2 separate regions of the Homo sapiens genome follow, and region 1 is linked to region 2. Evidence: promoter capture Hi-C in human tissues and cell types (Jung and others, 2019). All regions are on one chromosome and are shown on one strand. The core of a region is centred on a gene start or on the middle of the fragment in contact, and the rest is flanking DNA. Distances in the headings are between cores, read along the strand shown. Region 1 overlaps ZBED3-AS1 (ZBED3 antisense RNA 1). Region 2 holds the start of ANKRD31 (ankyrin repeat domain 31).

Region 1 (5,203 bases), core at 2,659-5,158, 1.9 Mb after region 2:
GGCCCTGATACTTGTCAAGAGTTTTATTTAGCTCTGTTCTTCTCTTTCTGTTGGAATATCATTCATTTTTCTTGGACTGTGGGATGCGGTCCATGACCTTCACACTAGCTCTGGCATTACTGTCTGTAGTGTTTCGCAGTAAAAGAATTGGCATAACGTCACCCACCCTACCTCTACACTGTTTGACGTGCACATTTCCATCAGTCTAGGCTGCTCACTGTTTTCCATCTCGGTTCTGGGAAGCCAGAAAAAAATTGGTTTGAAATTGAATTTTTAAAGTATGTTTTTCTAATGAAACTCCTAGATGGCCTTGATTGTGTTTCCAGATCTCCTCTCATCTCGATTCTGTTTTCACACAGAGATGCAGTTGTTTTTCACAGTCTGGAGCATAGAGAAAATGTGGACTGCACTCTATGCTGATCAGAACCTATATAGACCTCTGGATTTTATTTTGGGCACTGCATTTGAAAGGATATAATGGCAAACTGGAGTGGGGCGGGGGTGAGGGAGGGGAACTAACAGATAGGTCTGAGCAATATCTGATGAACAATTAACCATGTAGAAAAGAAGACCCAGGGGAGGCAGAGTAGCTATCTGCAAAAGTTGTGTTGAAATATAGCTGTGATTGGTGTGGGGAAGTTAGAGAAAGCAAATTTCAGCTTATTATAAGGTTAGATTAGAAACATCCAATAGTTAAACTAGACTGACTCATAAAGACGTTAGTTCTCCTTCCTGGGAGTCAGATAAATGCCAGGTAACATCTCTCAGGAATATACTTCGGGGCGGGGAGGGGAGTTCCTCATAATAGAAAACCCATCTAGAACACTTATTTTCTTCCAAGTACTCTTCTAAGCACCTTTCCCTTATTATTTATTTAACCCTCATGACAACCTTATGAAATAGGCACTTCAGATCCACAGCTTTTATCTGAAAACCTTAGGACCAAAATTCTTAATTTTTTGGATTTTAGAAAGGTATATGACACATACACCTTATGGTAGAAAACACCCCCATGGGGCTGTTCTCCATAATCAAATACATTGATATTTATACAGTGAGGCATGTGAATTTTTGCATTAAATGGAATACTTTTACATGAGTTGGGTTACGTTTTGTTGCCAAATGAGTTCAGATCATCTCTTCCCACCAAAAAATTTTGAAATAATTTTAGGTTTTTGCATTCTGAATTGTAGAAAAGAGATTATGGACACATATTGCTATTCCCAGTTTACTCATGAAGAAACTGAGGCAGAGAGATTAAGTAGCTTGCTCAAAGTCATATGACTTCCACCCAGGCAGAAATCAGGTTTGAGCCCTGCTCTTAAGCACTGTGTGGACTGCCTCTCCCTGTGCTCTTCTGCCTCCTCTCTTTGAGGGGTTGGGCTTAGTTACCTGCAATGTCTCTAACCTTGTGCCTTCGATTCCCTGACCTCTGACTTCAGCCAGCCTCACTGGTTCCAGAGCGATACTCAGAGCTGTTCTCAGATACCAGACTGGAATAAACGAGAGACATCTGGAGAAAGGAGACCTCTTCCTATCCCAACAGGACTGTGTTTCACAGGAGGCATTTTAGTGTTGTTGTTCCCCAATGGCTAGGCAGAGGCAGACAAAGAGAACATTGTGTATCATCATAATTTGTCTTCAATGACCTTTCTTTTTGTGTCATTCACCACCACCTGTTCCTCAAAACACCACCATGTGAACCCCAAGCCCAATGGCTCAGGCTTGCCCTCTTTCCACCCACGTTCCAGGATGGATTTTTCCAGGAACAGGACTAATGACTCTTAACTTTTCTTCTACCATCTAGAGATGGATTATAAGGTAGCAACCCAAGAAAGTGGGTTTGGACATTCAAATACTTGAGTTTAAGTCCAGATGTGCAAACTTGGGCAAAGCCATTTAACCTCATTCATCAACTTGTCAAATAGGAAAGATAATACTTACCCGGGATGAATTCCAGTTTTGGTGAGCTTGACATTTTCACTATTTGCTGGAGCCTTCTTTAAGCAAAAGAATAAAAATTTATGATATGAATTGGGTACAAAATTGTGCGTTTATTTAGAAACAATTCTCTTGTTCACATAAGGGGAAATATGATGCATTAGGAGTTGAAGTGATCTTAACAAAAGGCTTTTTTTGGGTATAATTTACAAAATTATACAACCATGTAAACTTATTGATAGGGCCCCTTTCCAGAGTTAGAAAGGGGTCCATTCAACAAACAGTCCTGCAACTTAGAATTCATTAACAGCAAGGTAAATTTGCTTCTGTATCAAACTCACAGAGTTGTAAGAATTGAATCACAAGATTAAATATATGCAAATGTGTTTTGTAATCATCAAACACGGTGCATAATTATTTTGATGCCTACAACTAAGCAAAAATATTTGTACCTAGAACAAAGCAAAAATATTTATTCAATAAATGATAAAATAGATGAAATTTGCTCTCACCAAAGTAGTATACAAGCTAATTGTATTACATTTCCCTAGGCCTGAAAAAATTTATCAGAGTAATATATGTACATATTTTTACACAACAGTCCAATATTGATAAAAGATTTGCAACCAAATAGAACAAGCCCATGTCCCACCCCTCATATTTTCTAATTCCACTTTCCAGACTCAATACATTTCCTCCATATTGCTAACTAATATGTGCTATATTGTTTTTCCTGATTTATCAACCTTGAATATTGTCTGGTGACTCTCTATTATGGCATTATTCACTTTCTTCTTCCCATTCTCTCAATATAGTTATAGGACAGTTCTTCTTATAATATGAAATATTGTTTATGGCTGAACAAAATAGTGGGCTATGATTTTACGTCCTTCTACATACCTCTAAATAATTGTGTTATTTTTCATTTGCTTAGTTTTCCATTTTACCTATACTTGGGTTTTCCCACTGTCTACAATAGCATTTTATGTATCTTTCCACTCAGTCAAATTCCCCACGCTGCAGAGAGCCATGGAGCCCTCCATCCCTCTGCTCCAGACTAGTCTTGCTGTCTTCTGTGCAACAATATGGAACTTCATGTGCTATCATGCTGGAAATTTCCATCATCTCTCTCCTAAACTGGATTTCCTATGTTTTCTATCTTCCTCTGTTTTGGTTGCGTCTTTTTGGTGGTTCTTATTCTCTAGTAGCTTCTAAGGAAAGGTCTATGGGAGGTACATTAACTGAGACTCTACATGTGCATATCTCAAAATATCTTTATTCTAGCCTTATAATTAACTGATAGTTTAGACGGATATGGAATTCTAGGTTTAAAACAATTTCACTCAGAATTTGGAAGGCATTTCATTGTCTTCTAGCTTCTGATATTGCTCTAGAGAAGTTCTGCCATTCTCATTCACAATCCTTTGTATCTGATGACTTTTCCTCTTTGGAGATGACCTATGATTCCACAATAACATGTGGTAGGTTAGATTATTATTCAAAATATTCACTTTTCTCCCTCACCCTGACTTACTTTGGCTAGTGGGATATTAGCAAGTATGTTGCAAGTAGGGGCTTGAAAAACACTTGTGTGGTTGGGCTTGTTTTCTTAGGCTTATGCCATCAGAAGCACAGAACAAACAGGCTGATGACTAGCCCACTGGTTCTAGAAGGAGGATGAGTAACACATGGAGCAAAGCCAAACCCTCCTGGCCAAGCTCAGCCTGAATCAGCAGAGCTGCACAGTGGAGCCCAGCTTGGATCTGCCAACACTCAGCTGATTCATAGATCAATGACAATAAACGACTGTTATTTTAAGCCACTGAATTTTTGGATGTTTGTCATATAACATTTTGTGGCAATAGCTTTTGGTATCAGAAATTAGTATCTAATTGGTATTAGAAATTGATATTTGTAGTGAGGTATAGGCACAAGAAAACAAAAAAATAAGTGGCATTGGTTTGGAGGCTGGATGATGGGCACAAGAAAACTGTTATAGGAGGCTGGAAAGAAAATGGTAATCTGTGTTTTGCAGGGATGAGACATTTTCTAAAACTGTCACCTTTGGTAACTTGGAAGTTAGCATATGTACCTAAAAATATTTGGATTTGTGCTGAGAAGTCTTCATGCACAATGATAAAAGTGTGAGCTAGTTGTATTTAGCTGCATATAATAGGTACTAGAGATGAGTTCAGAAAAGAACCAGCCAGGTTTCAAGGAACATGTAGGTGGAATGCAGGGAGCCCAAGAATTCTGGGACTTGCTGAGTTGGAAAATAAACTTTTGCATCTCCAATATAGTTGGCAAGTCAGCTATATTGGGCCTTCTGTCCTGGAAGGTTCCACAGTTCATCCTCACAGGGTTAGATACCTCTCCTGGCTTTAGATTTGCCTTTCCTTGCCACAGAGCTTCAGCAAGCCCCACTACCTGGGGCCGATCTGTAGTCATGGAAGCACACACAGCATAATATTGACCAGAGGATCACTTCATCGCAAAGGAGGCTTGGGAATAGGACAATGACCATGGGATCCACTGGTCATATCAGATACTGTATCACCTAGATGGAGCCAGCCTCATAAAGCATTGGAATGGTTACTAAAGGCACAGCTGGAGCTCCAGCTGGAGGCAATGCTCTGAAAGAACAGGGTACCATCCTGCAGGATGCACTGTATACATTAAACTGGGGTTCTCCATGTGGTGCTATGTCCTCAACAGGAAGAATACATGGGTCTGAGAACCAAGAAGTGGAAGCAGGAGTGGACCCACTTATCATTTCCAATGACCTCCTGGGGAACTTTGTGCTTCTTGTCTCTACAACTCTGGGCTCTATGAGATTAGAGGTTTTGGTCCTCAAATGAGGTGCAGCTTGGCAGGAGACACAGCAAGTGTCCCATTGAACTATATACTATGGCTGCCACCAGGGCATTTTGGACTCTTTCTATGAAGAGACCAGCAGGTGAAAAGAAGAAATCATTGACTTCCATCAGCAGAAAGAGGTGAGGCTGCCTGTACACAATGGGACAGGGAGGAAGGAATGTGTATGGATCCCAGGTGATCCCTGTGGTCAAGTTTTTCTGTAGTCTTGCCCAATCTGTGATGTGACTGCCAACAGCTAAGACCTTCTGGAATAAAGATAATGAAGATAATAAAGAGGGGGAGGGGAATTTAGATTGGATAGTGCAGGTAGGAGAAGATGACTATGGGTTGCGATCTCAAGACAACTGGCGGCACTAGGGGCTATAGTTCCTCCCATTAACTTCTC
Region 2 (5,141 bases), core at 2,032-4,531:
AAAAATTTAACATTATGCCAATAAAAGTACCAATAAGGGCCGGGCACAGTGACTCATGCCTGTAATCCCAGCACTTTGGGAGGCTGAAGTGGGGAGATCACTTGAAGTCAGGAGTTCGAGACCAGCCTGGCCATCATGGTGAAACCCCATCTATACTAAAAATACAAAAATTAGCTGGGCATGGTGGTATGCGCCTGTAGTCCCAGCTACTCAGCAGACCCAGGCAAGAGAATGGCTTGAACCTGGGTGGATGGAAGCTGCCGTGAGCTGAGATCATGCTACTGCACTCCAGCCTGGGTGATAGAATGAGACTCCGTCTCAAAAAAAAAAATAGTCCAGATTCTTTCCTAAGGAAATTATTTTTAAAAACCCCAACAATTTATGCTTAAGGAAATTATCTCAGAGTTATTTGCAATAACAAAAAATTAAAAACAAACTAAATGTTTTGTTTTAAAATCATATAATGCTTCAACAAATTATCCCTTTATGACAGAAAACTATCAATAATTTAGGGAAGAATTTTAATGACATTGCAAATGTTTAAAAATAATGTTAAGCGAAAACTGTAAACTTGTACAAATTGATTCAAACTTTGTAAAAGAATTATAGGTGCACACACAAAAGCCTACATAGAAAGCTGGAAGAAAATATACCAAAGTCTTAATACAAGTAGAATTAGGTCAGATTTCTATCTCATTCATGCTTCTTTTTATTGCTCATGTTTCCTATAGTGTTCCTGAATAGACAATATATTTATATGGTTCAAAATTCAAAAACCAGTATAGACTAGCCCTGATTACTCATGCTCATAGTCCTCACTACTCAGGGAGCTGAGGCAGGAAGATCACTTCAGCCTAGGAGTTAGAGGCTTCAGTGAGCTATGACTGCACTATTGCATTCCAGACTGGACAATAGTGTAAGATCCAGTCTCCAAAACAAACAATATAATAGGGTATGTAGTAAAATATCTCTCTGTCCCCTCAAATATAAGCTTTCTTTCCCACAGGCAACCAAGGTGTTTGATTGTTTTGTAATTCTTTCAGAGATATTTTCTAAGTGTATATATGTTGGAAGACAGAGGTAACACTATTTTCTAAAAACAGAAGCACTGTGTCAAAGAGTATATGTGTTTGTAATCTTGATAATTGAAATTTTTTGAGTTTTGTATTATAATTATATCTTTCTTCCTCTACAGTTATAAAAGAATCCCTTTTTGGCTTCTTGTAATACTTTTTGGTTTTTTTTTAACATTTACATCTTTGATTCATATGGAATTTTTTTGGAGTACAGTGTGAAATATGGATTCAACTAAACTATTTTCTACATACATCCTTCATCATCCCAATATCATTTTTTGAAAAATCCCATCATTTCCTCGCTGGTTTGAGATGCCACCTCTGTAATACACTAAATTCCCATATGTATGTGATTCTATTTTGGGGGTTTTTATGCTGTTTATTGATCTGTCACTTTATGTGCCAGTATCATATTTAAAATATTTTATATCAGAAAATATTTTAATATCCTATAGGTCATTACCTCCTTATTGTTCTTATTTTTCAGACTTTTCCTAATTGCTCTTATTTATTTTACGATATAAACTTTGGAATCAGTTGTCTAGTTCAACAGAAAGTCTTGCTGGTACTTTTTTTTTTTTTTTTTTTTTTGAGATAGAGTCTCACTCTGTCGCCCAGGCTGGAGTGCAGTGGAGTCATTTTGGCTCATAGCAACCTCTGCCTGTTTCTCATTACAACCAAAAACTCCGAATGAATATTTTTTAAAAACTACTCGAGAACCTTGAAAAGTAAACAATAGCAGGTAGATTGGGGACTGAAGTTGAAATCTTAATAACAACCCATTTATTGACGAGTTTCAGTTTGTTTTCGGTTTTTTGGTTCTTTTTTGTCTTTCAGCTTTGAACCATCCAGTGGGCACAGACAGTAAACCTATTTTTATCCAGAAGACCAAGGAAAATGACCCCTGCATGCCAGAAGGTATAGGACAAAGCCCAGGGCTTTATGTTGCTTTCTCTCTCACCTCCCAGCCCTGCCCCAAGGCTGGCCCTAGCCTCAGAGCAGACACCAACCATGGCAACTGGGGAACATAAAACTCAAGAGAAAGTGTCTACCAGAGGAACTGGGAAAAGGGATCGGTATTGCCTGAAAAGTGTGGACAGAATCCCCCTTTTTTCTCTCTTTTCTTAACTCTGTGCTAAAGGCTGTCCCCCTTGTAAGGAACTGCTGTATAGTGAAAAGGCTAACACTCAAAGAAACCTGTCTTTCTGATCATATGAACTGGCAAGTGGGTATGATGAGGAAAGGGGGCAGGAGAATCCTGGAGAAGAGAGAGAGGGAAAGGAGAATGACCTAATTCTGTGTACGATCCAACTTAAGTCCCAGACACAGCCCTGAGCACATATGAAGCAGACCTAGTGGCCTCATCCCTGCCCTCTTTTCCCTGTGTCTAGCACAGAGAATATGTTAGAGAAAGGTTTCGATAACCTGAAATACCGACTTTTTTGGATTCGTATAAAACTATTCGTTTCCAGTTTGGCAGGGACCAGTTTCCCCATCACACATTCTTTTCTTGAGAGAAACTGTTACCCATTTTCCTAGAACTGAGCTACGAGTCTCTTGAAGCAAAATGAAGTCTCCTGAAACAAAATGCAGTTAAGTTCAGACCCAAGATCTTTTTTGCTTGTGCAAAAAGACTTAAAGCCCCCAAAAGGAAAGCCTTTTGAAAAATGCTATAAAGCCACCTAGTACAAACCTCATTTTATCCCTAGCTGGTTGGGGGTAGGTGGGAACAGACTGTGTTTGCTTATTTACAAGCTCTCAGCTCAGGCACGGCTGCCCCACAAGGCTCTGATCCTGCCCACAAGCACATGTTCTGGTCACGATCTCCACTCAAAACTCTGACCCCCTCAGAGGGCACCTGGGCCGCCCTGGCGCGAGGGTTCAGGCACTGTGGCCCTAATGATGGTCACCTTCTCCAGGGCAGCTCCTTTTCTTCCAGGTCGCTCTCCGTCACTGAACCCTCTATCACAGTTTCATCACTGTCCCAGTCTGGGGCCTGGACGCCTTCCTCCATCTTTGCCTCACATTCAAAGTCTTTTTTACCCTCCTCTAACTCCCTCTTGCCCGCAAACAAAAAAACGCTTTGAGGGCCAGGGGAAATTGTGAATTAAAAATAAAAATAATATAATCGCAGCAGGAGCCGGGACTTGTCGCAGGGCTGCTGAGGAGGACGCAGGCGGCCGCGAGCGCGGCGGGGTAGCAGTCTGCGAGGCGGCCCGCGGGTCCCGCCGCTCGTCGCAGACAGGGGGCAGCCGCTCGCCACACGACGGAGCCCTGCGCAGCGCTCGGCCCCGCCCCCAGCTCCCGTGGCCGGAAGTGGGAGGCCGCGCGCGCGCGCGCAGGCCTACTCTGGGCGTGGCCTGCCGCTGCGTGTTTTTTTCACGGTTTCTCATTCTCGGTCGCTAGGCTTTGAGGGTGCTGGGGTTGCTGCTGCAGAGACCAGAAAGGCAGGCGTGGCGCACCCAGAACTCAGACCGAGCCTGCTTAACACCCTTGGCCGGGAGGGTGACCTGCCATGCACCTGATGCTTGTGAGCCCCAGATACGGGAAGAGCTGTCAGCTCCTGCCCGCCCCAGCAGCCCTGGCATTCTGGAGCCAGAATGCGACCTTAGACCTAAAGAGAGTTTTTGCAGCCCACCAAGTGCTTCCTTTCCCTTTAATCCCTTGACAGCCTCTCCTCAAGTGTCCTCTGAGGTAGACAAAACAGATACGTTTATCAGAAGTTTTAGCTCATCAACTAATCTCAGTGATGTATTTTGCATTTTTTTTTTCTCTCAACAACGCTTTGGTTACCTGAAATACAGATTATGCAGGAAAGGCAGGATAAATGCTTTATTTTTTCCTCTTTTATCAATTTTTATAATAATAGTAATGCCTAGCAACCTCCAAAAGTAGTCAATTGCGTTTTAATGAAGTACTAGAATTTTATATATTTGATGTGTTTCAGTCTAGTTGAACATTTTTAATTCAAACTAATTCAAAACAAAGCCAAGTGAGCTTCCACTTGCCAAGTGAGAAGAAGATTCAAGAAAAGACCAAGTTGTTTTCCCATAGCAAGTGTTTAGTATTCACCTTGGAGTCTCCAGCATCTAGCACATATAAAGTCTAAGTTTTGTCATAAATGGATGGAGCTAGAGATTTCTGACTTCCCAATTCATTGCCCTTTTCACTATATGGAGTAGCTTTGCCATTATTATCATTATTATTATTTTGTGTTTTTACTATGTATATTCAAGCCACTGCTATTTAAAATGCTTGATTGGTGATTATCTTCTAAACTTAACTTGAGGCTGGGGGTGGTGGCTCTACCTGTAACCTCAATGCATTGGAGGCCGAGGCAGGAGGATTGCTTGAGACCAGAAGTTCAAGACCAGCCTGGGCAACATGGTGAGACCCCTATCTCTGCAAAAAATTTGTTTTTAATTAGCAGGGCATGGTAGCATGGGCCTGTAGTCCCAGCTACTCAGGTTGAGGCGGGAGGATCGCTTGAGCCCAGGAGTTTGAGGTTATAATGAGCTATGATTGAGCAAACGCACTCCAGCCTGAGCAACAGAGTCATACCATGTCTCAAAAAATAAAAAAATAAACTTACTTGAATAAGTAACTTACTTAAATAAAATTCCTCGCCTCAACTCTGTAAATTAGGCAGAGCAATAATAAATATGCAAAGAACTAGACCTCTTTTTTATTTTTTTTAACAGTAGTCCATTTATACCCTCCGTGTCTAAATCAGACCTAAATTCCTATCACCTTTCCTGCTCACCCACTGTTTAATTAATTCATTAGCGCATTCTTCTGTGTTGCCCAAGCTAATCTCCAACTCCTGGGCTCAAGCTGTCCTCCCACCTCACCCTCCCAAATAGCCGGAACTACAATCTCATGCCACTATGCCCACTTCACCCATTCTTTTAATTATCCAACTCTGCTTTCACAGGAATTGGGGGATGCATACCCAGTAAATGGTGGTGAGTGGCTCCATTTGCCCCAGAGGGAAAGATGACTCCACTAGTAACAGTACTTGCTCCAAACAGCTGGTAACAAGCTAAGTGCAATAAGTCCTCACTT

Evidence for each region. Contacts are between HindIII fragments. The study calls those that stand out against the background at their distance.
Region 1: a fragment that was not itself captured here is called in contact with the fragment with the promoter of ANKRD31 in region 2 in 1 of the 25 tissues and cell types used here (hippocampus).

What each region holds. Positions count from the first base shown.
Region 1 is chr5:77,129,649-77,134,851 of GRCh38, forward strand. The region is part of intron 2 of ZBED3-AS1 (ZBED3 antisense RNA 1); the gene reads left to right. It overlaps LOC124901008 (a long non-coding RNA gene), which reads right to left and starts at 1,480. Exons shown (of 3, transcript XR_007058827.1): 1 at 1,409-1,480; 2 at 172-235. It also overlaps a transcript of PDE8B not described here. The HindIII fragment of the contact is 4,061 bases long and covers 1,879-5,203 here.
Region 2 is chr5:75,233,597-75,238,737 of GRCh38, forward strand. It overlaps ANKRD31 (ankyrin repeat domain 31), which reads right to left and starts at 3,282. Exons shown (of 26, transcript NM_001372053.1): 1 at 2,987-3,282. The coding sequence starts at 3,090. It overlaps LOC124901006 (a long non-coding RNA gene), which reads left to right and starts at 3,442. Exons shown (of 2, transcript XR_007058823.1): 1 at 3,442-3,770. RefSeq lists an enhancer at 3,003-3,172 and a silencer at 3,223-3,522. The HindIII fragment of the contact is 20,855 bases long and covers 1-5,141 here.